Linked DNA regions of Homo sapiens: region 1 is linked to region 2. Evidence: promoter capture Hi-C in 16 types of primary human blood cells and fetal thymus (Javierre and others, 2016). All regions are on one chromosome and are shown on one strand. Each heading gives the region's core, a stretch centred on a gene start or on the middle of the fragment in contact. The rest is flanking DNA. Distances are from core to core; before and after follow the strand shown. Region 1 holds the start of NR1H4 (nuclear receptor subfamily 1 group H member 4). Region 2 holds the start of GAS2L3 (growth arrest specific 2 like 3).

Region 1 (3,883 bases), core at 287-2,786, 100 kb after region 2:
GCCAGTACTTTATCAGTTAACCAGGAGTTGCATCAGTATTTGTTGCAACATCCTCAGAAAACAGAAAAGTCCACGGTACAAATGGCACAGATCCATAATTTGGAGGACTGGGGGTAGGAACGTAACACAAAGATAAAAGTGTCTATCATTTTATAAAATCACAGCTAGAAACAAAATGGTAGCTCCCTGAACATCTTTTCCTCTCTTCTCCCTTCCTTTTTTTAGGAACAGAAAAAAAAATTTAGATAGATAGATAGATAGATAGATAGATAGATAGGTAAACCACTTTACTGAGGTGTGACTGACATATAAAAGCTTTACATATTCCATGTATACACTTTGATGAGTCTGGGGATAGGCATACACTCATTAAATCATCACCACAATCTATACCATAAACCTATCCATCACCTCCAAAAGTTTCTTCCTGCCTTCTTATTTATCACTAATATTATTTCTAAGGGTTCCTACCCCTCTTGTCAATACTCCTGAAGTGATTCTAAGACAGCACCAGAAACAGCATCAGATTTCTTTATAGCTCAAAGCTCAGGTGTGAGTTTCTTAGAGGAAGAATTCAAGGTGAGTCACTTGTCATTCCCTCCTGCCCCTCCCTTCTGAATAAAAACCCAATTAAAAGAAGTAAGTCAGGCTCCACAGTTGCCCCATTCACTCTGTCAATAAGGAGACAAAGAGGTATCTTATCTATAAATTTAGTCCTTGGACAATTTTATTACTAAAGTTCTTCGTCATACTCACATTTCTATCTTTTAAAAATATTTCCATCTGATATTTCCTGTCATATTAATATTCAAAATGGAAAGCAATAGAAGAGTTTACAACTGAAGTCAAGAAAGAAGACTTTTTCCACCTACTCTTCTTCTAGGGAAAAATTTCATTTCAATTAAGCATAGGTTAAATGTCTTATTCTTAGTTCCCAAGTCATCTGACATTAGCAATACTCCCAAACTCACATCAAGATTTGATAAATCACCAAAATATAGCACACTATACAAGTCAAATTGTTTATGGAATCAGAACGGAGACATTTCTGAAATGCACTATCTCCAGTGATTTACTCAGGTGACCACAATGTTAAAAGAGTATTTCTAAATAAGTTTTCAATAGGTAAGCAACTGTTAAGACTCATTAACTTTTGCTTCTGCTTCTTTTTGTTTTTTAGTTTCTCTCTTTTTTAATTTTCAGGACTTTACATCAAACTCTACTAACTTAGAATTCATTTATTGACATACATTACAGATGTCAAAGAGAAACTTTTAAGTGACTATTTTTTCTCTGTTGCTGTGAGATACACAACCCACTCCCAAAGGAATTAGGTACTTACTTGGATTGTTTTGGGTCAGAGATGGACTTTCAAGGCCCTGGGAGGATTCTGGACTGAGTCTTCCTCTCCAGATCCCAGCGATTTTGCTACAAATGCTCAGAATCCAATTTCGCATTAGGATAAGTCGGGGAGACAATGAGGTGAGGAGGAGGAGAGAGTTCCAGTGTACTGTGCATGATCACAGGCGGCCTTCTGGGCTAGCAGCAGCATCTCTTCCTTGGCTCTGTGCCTCATGGACACAGATTAGTCATTAACAATCCTTCCCTGCTAAATGATATAAACATAGAAAGGAACCTTGGGAGAGCCTCGAGATTCCCAAGACAAAACCGCAAAGCCCCAGAATGAGGAATGTGACAAAACCAAGGAGCCCTGCAGCTTGCCTTTGAAAGCATTTCTCCTCTGGCCGTTTTGTGGGCTCCTGGGCACCCGTATTTCTGTACACATCAACTAAAACCAAACTGTCATCTTCCCTCTCTCTCACTACAACTTCTTTGAATAGCTCTATCACTTCCCCGGGACTGAACTAGAAGCTGGGAGCCTTTTTGACCCTTCCCTCTGCCCAGCCACCCATATCAAATAATAACAGATTTGGGTTGATTGCATCTTTGGAATGTCTCTTATTTCCAACCCACATTGTTCTTCTCCTACTTTGGGCCTATCATAGCTTCCTTTCTGGATGACATTGGTCCCACAACCCCTTTTTCTTCTCTCCCCTTCTTCTGTTTTCCAAATTGCACAGCAGTGTGGAAGCACAGGCTCTGGTTAGATGCCCACTCTTTAGTCACAGCCTTGAGCAAGACACTTAGCCTCTCTGAGTCTCAGTTTCCTCATCTGTAGAATGGATATGGAGAAACCATCTCATGGGCTGTGGTGAGAATTACATGAGTAGTGAAAATGTTTAGAAAAGTGTGTGGCAGATAGCAATCACCCAATAATTTGTGGCAATTATTATTTCTCTCCTTCATTAGTTGAACCATCATTGATTGATTATCAGCCTACTATGTACCCAGCAACTTGCTAGGCACTCCCCTCATCGAAAATCCCCAATGCACTCTCTATGCCTAAAAAACGAACACAAAATGCTTGACATTTAGAACCCCTTCCACACCTGAAGATCTAGCCCTAATGTCTCTAGGATTTTCTCACATTCTGTCCCTTCAGACATCCCAACCTCTGCCAACCTGTACCAAGCTCTCCCGCCTCCACACTTTTGCACAAGCTCTTCCTTCTACCTCAGTTACTTTCTTTTCACACCCACACATCTTCCAGGCGTGGAACAGAAGCAGAGTTCTCCCTGAAGCCAGCCCCATTCCTCATCTGCCCCTATTCTCCCCACCCAACTCCCTTGATCTTTTATTTGTAGTTTCCTTGCTGTCCCTTAAATCCTCTGACCTTATATATTATAGTTTTCTACTTGTTTTATCTCTTTTACAAAAACCAGGCATGGTAGCAGACTTGTCTTTGTATCTACCCTTTGTCTTAGCACAGTGCCTCTCACAGAAAAAGCATTGTGTAACTCTTTGTTAACGCAATCAATGAGTGAGCTGAGAAACAACTTCCCAAAGCAGCATGGCTGCACATGCACCTGTGTGTGTGTGTGTGTGTGTGTGTGTATGTGATGTGTGCATTTCCCATCTGTGATGTGTGTCATTTGTTTCCCGTCACAAGGTCAGCTAGTAGAAGATCTACATTCAAACCTGTTAGAAATGTTATATTTTGCTTCTCTTATAAAATAGCATTTTTGTAGGTCCTACAGGCTCCTACTTCCTACCTACTTCTGGGGGTTCCCAATGTACTATGGTGCATCCTCCAGCCCCTTCGGCACAAGGAAGAGGGTCACCCCAGGCCTGTACATTTTCTTTTGAAGAGAGTTTGCACTGACACTTACTGCACTCTGCAGCTCTGGGCTGCCTGAGGGACTCCTGTGTGACTTCTATGTGACACCAAGCCCATTTCTTCTTGGATGATAAGAGCCTGTACTGTGATTTCATTCTCTCCAGCAGAGATGGAGACAATGACTGAAGACACAGACTGTGGCGCTGGACCGGCTGGGTTCAAATCCCAGCTCTGCCACTTACAAGCTGTGTGACCTTAGACCTTAGGCTTTTCCTTAACATCTGTCTCAGTTTCCCCATCTGTAAAATAAAGATATAATTACTATGTATTTCATGAGGTTATTGCAAGGATTTAATGAATTAATCTATGCAAAGCGCTGGTACCTGACACACAGAAAGTGCTGTGTAGGGGTTAGCTGTTATTATTTTCTCTGGGCCTTCACACTGACAATCGTATTTGCCCACTGGACTGGATACTCCCTGAGGGTGGCATGTATTTCCCATCCTTTTGGATCTCCAGTGGTGTAGCACATAGTGCTGGGTATGACATAAGAGCCCATTCAAAAATTTCAACAATTATTTTTCTTCTCTTCACACCACACAATCAATCCATTAGAAAATGTTTAAGTTTTACCTTCACAATATATGTATTGAATCTGATACCTTCCCACCACCTCCACTGTCATCTCTCTGGTCCATGCCAGGT
Region 2 (3,499 bases), core at 842-3,341:
CAGGCGCGGTGACTCATGCCTGTAATCCCAGAGCTTTGGGAGGCCGAGTCGGGCGGAACACGACGTCAAGAGATCGAGACCATCCTGGCCAACATGGTGAAACCCCGTGTCTACCAAAATACAAAAATCAGCTGGGCGTAGTGGCACACACCTGGAGTCCAACTACTCGGGAGGCTGAGGCAGGAGAATCGCTTGAACCCGGGAGGCAGAGGTTGCAGTGAGCCGAGATCGCGCCACTGCACTCCAGCATGGGCGACAGAGCGAGACTCTGTCTCAAAAAAAAAAAAAAAAAAAAAAATAGAGATAACATGAACTACATTTTAGGATTACTAAGAGGTTTAACAATAATATAAGTAAAGAACACAATACCTGATATATAATGATGTGTTTGATAAATAGTAATCCACGTGTTTATGATGTGTCAGATACTGTTTTAAATGCTTTACATGTATAATTTAGTCAATAAACAATAATTATCCCTATCTCTGGTACTGCCTTCACCTTCTACCTCTCCCCATCCTTTGGGGAGAGCTCAAAACTTTTTGTCTAAGTTAAACAGCAGAGAAATAATAATAGCTATGTATCAGGCACTGTGCTAAATTAGTTACGTGGAATTTCATTTAATCTTTACAACAATCCTCTCAATAAAGTAGGAACTATTATTAACCTTCTTTCACAGACTAGGAAATTTAGGCTTAGAAGGATTAAATAATGTGTCTAAAGTCAGATATCCAATGAAGTCTGATTTCAGAGCCCCCCTGCTTAGCAACTCTGTCACGCTAAAAAAAAAAAAATTACTACTTCTAATTCAATGTCAGATAGCAAACACCTACTGTTCAATGACAGTTGGTTTCTAATGAGATTTTGAAACAGATGAGTCAGACAACAGGTATCGGCATCTACACCAGATCACTAGAGTTTCCACTTCTGTCATTTGAAACAGTTCCAATTTGTTCCCAAAGGGAATCTGAGGTGGTGAGAATTTCAATTTCTAATCATTTAAGTGCCAAGACAGGTGATCAGATAGCAATTCACAAAGCGGTTCTGTTGTTCTTGTTGTTTTTGTTTGTTTGTTTTTTGCTCTTCACACAAGCGAAGCAAAACCCAGGCTCTGACCTAAAATCATCTCTTTGCAACCACTGGGGATCAGCTATTCCACCATGCCATGCCACAAAGCACTCAAATTTACAACATTCAATCCCTCGGTGTGAAAAGATTAGGAAAGGAACCACGGGTGACTGCATAGAGGAGCACGCCCTCCAAAACTTTCCTCTGACTTCCAAGGCACTCTACAAGCCTTCCCTTTCTTTTGCCAGCCTCTCCCCGGGCAGTCCTCCAAACTGAGGGTTGTGGGCGGAAGGCATCGCGCAGGGTCTCCAGCTCTATTCCCCAGTTCCGCACATGTGGGCGTTCTAGACCCTGCATGGACTGGGAGAAAAAACAGGGAAGAGCCTATAAACCTTGCTAGAGGGCAAGAATAACTGTCTGTCTCTTTCTCTTTGCAGGGCCAGAGACTTCATCAATTCTTTCCGAGGATGATGAACAGAAAAAAACAGACCCTCTAAGTGCCAGGCGCTTAGGGATGAGGGTGCCCCTGAAGATCCCACAGTACCTTCGGGCTCTGATACCGCTCTGGATTTAAAGCAGGGCGAGTAGCGGCTGGATCCCTCCTCCCCAGCTGAGCTCGCCCACACCAGCAGCCCCAACCGCCCCGCACACCTGTCGCCCCTCTCTCCGCACTTGGGTGGACAGGTGAAGGCAGGCGCAACGTCACCTTGACGGCCCCAGGAGCCAATCAGAGCACGCGACTGCCGCAGCCAGGCAAACGCAGAGCGTACTGGCTCCCGCAGCCGGGAGACCCAACAAACCTCAGCTTCGGGGCCTCAGAGAGCGGGGGGCTCCTGGAGCCCTCAGGCTGAGGCGCGGAGGCCCCGAGACAGCGCGTAAAAGTTCGCCAGGAAAAGAGAAGACAAACAGGGAAGTACTCACCAGGCGCAGGAGGGTCACTTCTCCCAGCGGGGCGACAACTCGGCTCAATCTGTGCGGGGCCAACACGCCCCTGACCAACCGCCGCCGCTGCCGCCGCCGCCTGGGCCTCAGGGTCAGTAGCCGCTGGCCGCCGCCTGTTTCGAAGGGACCAATCATAAGGCGGGGGCGTGGTCTGAGGCCCCGCCCCCGGGCTGCCGGGAAGCACGCGACCCGTGGGCGCTCGCCTGTCAGCGCGTCCAGCGCTGCGCCTCCGGGCGTCTCGGAGCTTCGGTGGCCAAGTCCCTCTGTTCACTGAAAGGCGAAGTGGTTCAGTCAGAGCAGGTCCTCCGATCTGGCCTTTCAGCGACAGCCAGTTCGAAAGCCACAGCCCGTCCTGTTGTTCCCACAGGCCTGAGAGGTGAATGAACCTCGCCTGTAATAATTGCTTCTGAGCGTCCTGGAATGTTGCGGTGCAGCTGAAGGCGCTTCCCTGAGTTTTATCCTGGTCTGTTAAGAGCCGCTCCCAACCCCACATCCACTCGGGAGCTGGCTGACCTGAGGGCGCCACGGTTTCCAGAGACGCAGCCTGGAACCCAGCAGGAATGGGGGTCCTCAGCAGAAATCTTTCAGAGAGAGGCCCCTCTTCTCAGGTGCGGAGGGATGAGGAGGAATCCTGTAGTCCCAAGTCACAAAAGGAGGATGTTGACTCTTCAGCAAACACCGGAGCCTGAAAACAAAACAAAACAAAACAAAAAAACAATGAACTTCAACGTAAGGGATGCTTACTAGCTCCCAGGGTTGAAATAAAGCCGAGACTAGACATCAGTGTAACAATCCCAAGTCGGTTATATCTGTAAATGTGGCTTGTTTCATAGCAAAAAATAAAATAAATAAATAAATAATTTTTTAAAAAAATCACTGGCTTTGTCCCCGAGGCCTGTGTTGCAGCCCAGGCCCTTCTTTTTTTTTTTTTTTTTTTTTTTTTTTTTTTTTTGAGACAGGGTCTTGCCCTGTCACCCAGGCTGGAGTGCGGTGGCACGATCTCGGCTCACTGCAGCCTTGATCTCACGGACTCAAGAGATCCTCCCACCTCAGCCTCCAGAGTAGCCAGGATTACAGGCCTGTGCCACCACACCGGGCTAATTTTTGTGTTTTTTGTAGAAATGGGTTTTTGCCATGTTGCCCAGGCTGGTCTTGAACTCCTGGGCTCCAGTGATCCTCCCACCTCGGCCTCCCAAAGTGCTGGGATTACAGGCGTTAGCCACCTCACCCGGCCCTATTCAGTCTTTTAGCCTTCCTCAAATCATGTCTCCTCTCTGGGCCTCAGGTCTCCATCTGTGAATGGTGGGCACTGAACTGGAATGACATCTCTCTCTAGCATTTATTCCTTCCTTTACTCAACAAAAACAATGAGATGTACTGTTGCTTGCTAAAGAAACTGAAATGAAAACAGCCTTAGGCTTCAAAGTGCTCAGCAGCATGGTAAAGGCCAAATGGAAGTCTGTGGAGGTCCATGAAAGAAGGAACCCCT

Evidence for each region. The method cuts DNA at HindIII sites, captures the fragments that hold promoters and counts their contacts. A CHiCAGO score of 5 or more calls a contact.
Region 1: a contact is called between the fragment with the promoter of NR1H4 here and the fragment with the promoter of GAS2L3 in region 2, in 2 of 17 cell types (neutrophils and total CD4 T cells). The highest score is 5.4, in neutrophils.

What each region holds. Positions count from the first base shown.
Region 1 is chr12:100,471,519-100,475,401 of GRCh38, reverse strand. NR1H4 (nuclear receptor subfamily 1 group H member 4) reads right to left here and starts at 1,536. Exons shown (of 11, transcript NM_001206979.2): 1 at 1,343-1,536. The HindIII fragment of the contact is 6,694 bases long and covers 318-3,883 here.
Region 2 is chr12:100,572,276-100,575,774 of GRCh38, reverse strand. GAS2L3 (growth arrest specific 2 like 3) reads right to left here and starts at 2,091. Exons shown (of 10, transcript NM_174942.3): 1 at 1,990-2,091. RefSeq lists an enhancer at 1,797-2,086 and a silencer at 2,117-2,246. The HindIII fragment of the contact is 13,205 bases long and covers 1-3,499 here.